Linked DNA regions of Homo sapiens: region 1 is linked to region 2. The links are contacts of gene promoters, found by promoter capture Hi-C in human tissues and cell types (Jung and others, 2019). All regions are on one chromosome and are shown on one strand. Each heading gives the region's core, a stretch centred on a gene start or on the middle of the fragment in contact. The rest is flanking DNA. Distances are from core to core; before and after follow the strand shown.

What was found. Contacts are between HindIII fragments. The study calls those that stand out against the background at their distance.
Region 1: a contact is called between a fragment that was not itself captured here and the fragment with the promoter of VWCE in region 2, in 3 of the 25 tissues and cell types used here (H1 embryonic stem cells, IMR-90 fibroblasts and pancreas).

Annotation. Positions count from the first base shown.
Region 1 is chr11:61,354,406-61,357,698 of GRCh38, reverse strand. CYB561A3 (cytochrome b561 family member A3) reads left to right here. Exons shown (of 7, transcript NM_153611.6): 3 at 971-1,169. The coding sequence starts at 986. Among named protein-coding and RNA genes, the nearest start is that of CYB561A3, 5.8 kb to the left of the region's middle. The HindIII fragment of the contact is 3,137 bases long and covers 1-3,116 here.
Region 2 is chr11:61,293,444-61,296,637 of GRCh38, reverse strand. VWCE (von Willebrand factor C and EGF domains) reads left to right here and starts at 1,322. Exons shown (of 20, transcript NM_152718.2): 1 at 1,322-1,710. The coding sequence starts at 1,601. RefSeq lists silencers at 1,243-1,312, 1,493-1,802, 2,243-2,502 and an enhancer at 1,569-2,271. The HindIII fragment of the contact is 27,132 bases long and covers 1-3,194 here.

The DNA of each region.
Region 1 (3,293 bases), core at 299-2,798, 61 kb before region 2:
ATTGGCTATTAGCTGCTTCCGAGTGAGGGACCTCAATGCAGGAAGCCACACTGTTGCCTTCTTGGTGTGAGTCCGTGGGACAGGGTGACTGCCTTGATGCCTGGGCCCGTGCTGCCTACATATTAGCTGAAAGCAGGGCCAGTCCTGTGGCTTTGCCCACTCACCTAGCGTTTAAGAGCAACTGCTCAGGGCTTTAAGCATTTGCCATGCCTGAAACCAGAGTTGGTTTCTGGGTTTATCAAGGACTTGTGGAAATCTCAAAATAAATCTCTTGCTTTCTGGACCATGAGTTGTTGCTTCCTCTTTTTTTCTCTGGACTTTCCCCAGAGGAAGAGAAAGCAGAAGTCTCAGGGCTGGAGACAGCTGAGGGGCATCAGCTGGTTCAAGGTGTGGAGTGTGGGCAGTGGAGTGAAGGCCTGGTTACCTCTCCAGTGAAGATTAGCCCCATAGAGCTTACTCTATGGGGAAGAACTTTTCTGACTCCTTCCTGTCTAGGGTAATAGTGGGGTGTTTGCTCTTTTCAGACTGTAATTTTTGCCTTCTTATCTTAGAACCCAAGGCCTGGGTGTTTGCGTAATTTAGCCTGGATTTTGATTCCTGTCCCTTTTTTCCTGGGGGGTATGGGGTGGTAATTCTTTACCTTCTGGTCCTGTGAGGGGAGAGGAATCCCAGGACTCTGGGTCTTGGGCCTTGGCATCTGGCCTTCGCCAGGGCCAGCCATAGCCTTGAGTTTGCTGCTCTGTCTGGGCACTGCCAGGTGCTGGGGTGGGGCCTCAGTCATTGTGACTGAAGATCAGGCCCACCCAGGCATTGAGGCCTCGGGCGGGGGGTGGTGCCCAGGCTGATGCAGGGGAACTGAAGCAAAAAGATTCCATCCCACAGGCCAAGAGCTAAATCAGTGTTACCTCCTTTAGCCAGAGAACTGGGTGCATCTGAGCCAGTGGAGATTTGTGACTTCTCCTTCTTCTAGGAGTGCGTGATCAGAATGGTGTCTGGACGGTTCTACTTGTCCTGCCTGCTGCTGGGGTCCCTGGGCTCTATGTGCATCCTCTTCACTATCTACTGGATGCAGTACTGGCGTGGTGGCTTTGCCTGGAATGGCAGCATCTACATGTTCAACTGGCACCCAGTGCTTATGGTTGCTGGCATGGTGGTATTCTATGGAGGTGGTGAGTAAGAGGTCAGGAAGGGAGGCGGGATAGGGCTCAGGCTGGACAAAGCTGCACTTTCCCTCTCCAAGGCTGGCCTTTGTAAATGTTGGGCTTGGGGCTATGGGGGTAGGGTGGGTTGGGCTGTCTCTGGGCCTAGCTGTCATTTGGGGGAGGAAGGGGTTAAGATGGGGGGCATCTCAGAAGGGTGGCTTCACAAATACTCTAGGGCAGGAGTTGGCAAACTTTCTATAGAGGGTCAGATAAATATTTCAGTTTTGCAAGACAGAATCTGTGTTGCAGTTACTCAGCTCTGCCACTGTATTGTGAGAGCAGCCATAGACAACACATACACACAAGTGTGGATCACGTGTTCCAATAAAGCTTTATTTGCAAACATAGGTAGCGAGCTGGATTTGGCCTTTGAGCTGTAGTGTTTTTTTTTTTTTTTTTTTTCTCTAGACGGAGTCTTGCTGTGTCGCCCAGGCTGGAGTGCAGTGGCGTGATATCGGCTCACTGCAAGCTCCACCTCCCAGGTTTGCGCCATTCTCCTGCCTCAGCCTCCCGAGTAGCTGGGACTACAGGCGCCTGCCACCGTGACCGGCTAATTTTTTTTTGTATTTTTAGTAGAGACAGCGTTTCACCGTGTTAGCCAGGATGGTCTTGATCTCCTGACCTTGTGATCTGCCCACCTCAGCCTCCTGAAGTGCTGGGATTACAGGCTTGAGCCATCATGCCCGACCTGAGCTGTAGTTTTTAACCAGCTCTAGAGAACAGGAGATTGAAGCCTCTCATGGTTTAGTCAGGCCACCGAATGAGGGACTTGCTTGCTCTTCCGGGATCCATCTTTTTTTTTTTTTTCTTTTTTTGAGATGGAGTTTTGCTCTTGTTGCCCAGGCTGGAGTGCAATGGCGTGATCTTGGCTCACTGCAACCTCCGCCTCCTGGGTTCAGGCCATTCTCCTGCCTCAGCCTCCCAAGTACCTGAGATTATAGGTGCCCGCCATCATGCCCAGCTAATTTTTATATTTTTTAGTAGAGATGGGGTTTCACCATGTTGGTCAGGCTGGCCTCGAACTCCTGACCTCAGGTGATCCACCCGCCTCTGCCTCCCAAAGTGCTGGGATTACAGGTGTGAGCCACTGCGCCCAACCTGGGATCCATCTTTGTAATCTTTGTCCCATGCTTTCAAATCTGTGCCTTGGGGCCCTGGTGAGCCTCATTTTCCCCATTTGTAAAATGGCAATACGATGCCATTGATGATAGCAGCTTACCATGTGCAGTTCACATATATCATCCCATTTTGTTCTTACAAGTTTGTGAGGTGGGCTCTGTTATATCCCTTTTACAGATGAGGAAATTGAGAGTTAGACAGGAGAGGCCAGGCCAGGCGTGGTGGCTCACGCCTGTAATCCCAGCACTTTGGGAGACTGAGGTGGGCGGATCATGAGGTCAGGGGATCGAGACCATCCTCGCTAACACAGTGAAACCCCGTCTCTACTAAAAATACAAAAAATTAGCCGGGTATGGTGGCAGGCACCTGTAGTCCCAGCTACTTGGGAGGCTGAGGCAGGAGAATGGCGTGAACCCGGGAGGCGGAGCTTGCAGTGAGCTGAGATTGCGCCGCTGCACTCCAGCCTGGATGATAGAACGAGACTCTGTCTCAAAAAAAAAAAAAAAAAAAAAGAAAGGAGAGGCCAAACAGCTAAGAGGCAGAGCCTGGATTTGGACCTATGTTGCCTGACCTTAGTACCTGTGTTGACAGCCAGCCTCACTTGTGACAATTCAGTTTGATGAAACAATGACTGTCATGATGCTTTTTAGCCTAGAAACTGCAAACAAGCTGAATTTATTATTGTGAAAATAGAATGAGAGGTCCAAGAAACCTGCTTCCCCCCTCCACTTTTTTTTTAGGAGACAGGTTTCCCTCTTTTTCAGGCTAGAGTGCAGTGGGATGATCATAGCTTGCTGCAGCCTTGAACTCTTAGGCTCAAGTGATCCTCCCACCTCAGTCCCCCAAGTAGCTGAGAGAACAGGCATGTGCCACCATGCCCGGATAATATTTTTTATTTTTATTTTTTGTGGACACAGGATCTTGCTATGTTGCCCAGGCTGATCTTGAACTTCTGGCCTCCCAAAGTGCTGA
Region 2 (3,194 bases), core at 73-2,572:
TTTTTTCGTTCTTTTTTTTTTTTGAGATGGAGCCTTGCTCTGTCGCCCAGGCTGGAGTGCAATGGTGCAATCTTGGCTCACTGCAACCTCTGCCTCCTGGGTTCAAGTGATTCTCCTGCCTCAACCTGAGTAGCTGGGAATACAGGCGCCCGCCACCATGCCCAGCTAATTTTTGTATTTTTAGTAGAGATGGGGCGTCACCATATTGGCTAGGCTGGTTCTGGAACTCCTGACCTCAGGTGATCCGCCCACCTCAGCCTCCCAAAGTGCTGGGATTACAGGTGTGAGCCACCGCGCCCGGCCACCTGTGGTTTTTCTTTACTGCAAACTCAATGTGTCATAATTAACATCATGGGGTTGCCAAAAACGTAATATTAGGGTGCATTAGTAAAAGTATGGTGTCTGCAGGAAGGAGGCACGAGTCCAGGCCACCGCTGGTACGCCATGTCCATTTGTGGCCACCAATGTTAAGCACCTCAGTAAAGGCAGAGGTAGCAGGAAGGCCAAAGGAACAGGGATTGTTCAACTGGGAAGTGAAGACACTTTAAAACAAATGTGGTTCAAAACTGGATTGGGCCGCTTCTTAACAGATAGTGAGTTTCTTACCCCTGGAAGTATTTAAGCAAAATCTTGACTAATTGTGGGTGGCTAAGGGAAAGATTACTGCATGGAGCAGAAGGTAAAATCAGTTATCCTTTCAGCTTTCTCCCAGCGGGATGATTTTGATTTCCGCACCCCTTCTTTGCCTAAATCCCTAGGCAGCCCCCCAGTCTCTGACCACGGCCTGGGGCAGCTGCAGAAGGGGCAAAGAGGAGCCTTCCAGATCTGCTGCTGCCTCTCCACTGCCAACGGCGCCAGCTGCTTCCTGGTCTTGCCACCAGCAGTCGGGAGGCCGGCCATCTGCCCCCTGGGTGCCCAGAGGAGCCCGGGGCTTCAAAAGTGGCTAGGGCCCCAGGCCAGGGAGCGGTTGGACCCACAGATCAACGCACTCCGGCGTTAGGGTGCAGACCTTCTGGCAGGCTGGGGGCAGGCCTAGAACTGCTCAGCGGCACAGCGACCTGGCGTCGTGGGTTCGAATTTCCACGGTTCCCACCTCGTCACAACAAGGCGTCTCGGGTCCCACCGACAGGGGCCATGCCCGGGGCGCGCAGCCTCTGGTGCTAGCCTTGTTCCCGAAGTCTGTTTCCTCCCGGGGCCTCGGTCTGACGCCTTCAGTCAGCGCTTCGCAGGAAGCCGACTCCCAAACCGGGGCAGGGGGTGTGGGCCGAGGGCGAAACCCCGCCCCCAGGGGTCCCTGATCTTTGCCCCCGCCCCGGGCTCCGCGCCTCTCGGAGAGGCATCAGCAGGCGGGCGGCGTTGCCTTTGTGTGTTTCGCTTCGAGGTGCCAGAGACCCTCCCCACAATCGTCCGCCGCGTCCCCTCGCGGCCCTCGGCCCCTCCTCTCGGCGTCCCAAGCCCCCCTGCTCAGCTCTGCGTGCCATTTCGGGGATCGCTGGTTCGCTCCCCACGGCGCCAGGAGGAGGGGCGAGGGCCGGCAGCCCCCTCTCCCGCGCGCGGCGCAGGAGCCGAGCCCAGCCCGGGGGACCCGCCGCCGCCGGTCATGTGGGCCGGACTGCTCCTTCGGGCCGCCTGTGTCGCGCTCCTGCTGCCGGGGGCACCAGCCCGAGGCTACACCGGGAGGAAGCCGCCCGGGCACTTCGCGGCCGAGAGGTAAGCGCCCGGAGCTCCTCCCCGCTCCCCCGCCCGGGAGAGCGCTACCGGCGTGCAGTCGAGAGGCGCGGAGGGGCGCTCAGGAGCCGCAGGCAGCCGCGTGTCGGGGCTTCCTCTGGGGTGCTATCAGCGCGGGCACAGCTCGGGGACGGCACAAAGAGTCAGCAACTTGTGCCTCTAGGCGGGTGCTCATCGTGCCCCCCTGGCTGGGGCTGTCCAGACTGGGACCTGGGAGATCGGAGGTCCAGGCGTTGGGTGACTCCTAATGTGCCCTGGAGCGCGGACCTCTGGAGAGGGGAGCCCAGGACGTGCCATCTGGTCTCCGGACTGGCTGGCTCACCCCCCAGCGTGCCCGTGGCTCTGCCCGGGCAGCGCCTGGCCTCCCCTGCCGCGCGGGGCTTTCCCTGGGTCTTGGCCCTACGAACTTCATGGACCTTGGAACAGCCGGGGTCTCTGGGTCACTTTTCGTTTTCTGTCCGTGCGTGTGCGCGCGTGGGGGTGGGGTGCATGCCCCTCCGCTGTCTTTCGCGATGGATGCCGCCCTCCGCACGTGCTTTCCCCCGGGCCGCGGTGGGGCCGTGCGCGTGTGTGCGTGATGCTCGGAGCTAGGGAACACTGTGTCAGCAGGCGGCCTGGCCCGCGGCCACGTCCTCCGGGGGGCGCGCAGCGGGGGCGGCCCGGCCAGGCTTGTAGCTCACACGTGTGTTCCACAGCCACCGCCAGTTCCTGCTCAGAACCTGCCCCGACTCCCCGGCGTTCCACAGGCTCCCACCACCTGTCCCTCTGTCACCAGCCCTAGGAGGCTCCTTAGGGCGCTCTGGCGGGTGCTCGGTCCCTGCCCACCTGAGAGTTCGACTCCATCAGCCTCCCTGGGCACCCTTTTATCTGCCGCCTTGGTGGCACTGCCTGTCCGTTTCTGAGAGTCCCAAGGCTCCGCTCATTCGCCCGGTCCCCTCCTTCTCAGGCTGCTGCCATAATCACTCCAGCAAGGGGGTGGATGAGACTTCACTGCCAGCTCCCGCCAGCAGGAGGGCCCCCCCTTTCTTCTGTGATGACCTCAGAGAGGGAAAAAGGCCCCAGGGACAGCTTTCCTCAGACTTTTGTGTGCTGCCATTGCACCCTGAGCTTCCCTTTCCGGAATACTTGTCACATTTTGGCACAGATTTTTCTCCCCAAGAACACGCTAAGTTTGCCTTGTCCCATGTCCCCAGTGCCCAGCGCAGAGTGGGTGCTTTACAAAGTGCCTGCCTCGCAGAATCATCTTCCCTCCGCTCTGAACATTGGTGGAACACCATTGGGAAGGGGTTTCTTGTCCCTTTTCTGTTGCGGTGGGGTTGGAAGCTCAAACCAGGCTGGATTTCATCACCCTCTGTCCAGTCCATGACTGGAGCTGGTTGCAGTTGTCCTCTCTGTCCCCCTCCAGGCCTGCAGTTGTGCTGTTTCCCCTGCTAGAACACCCTCTCCCTTCCTCTTCTTTTGCTGGC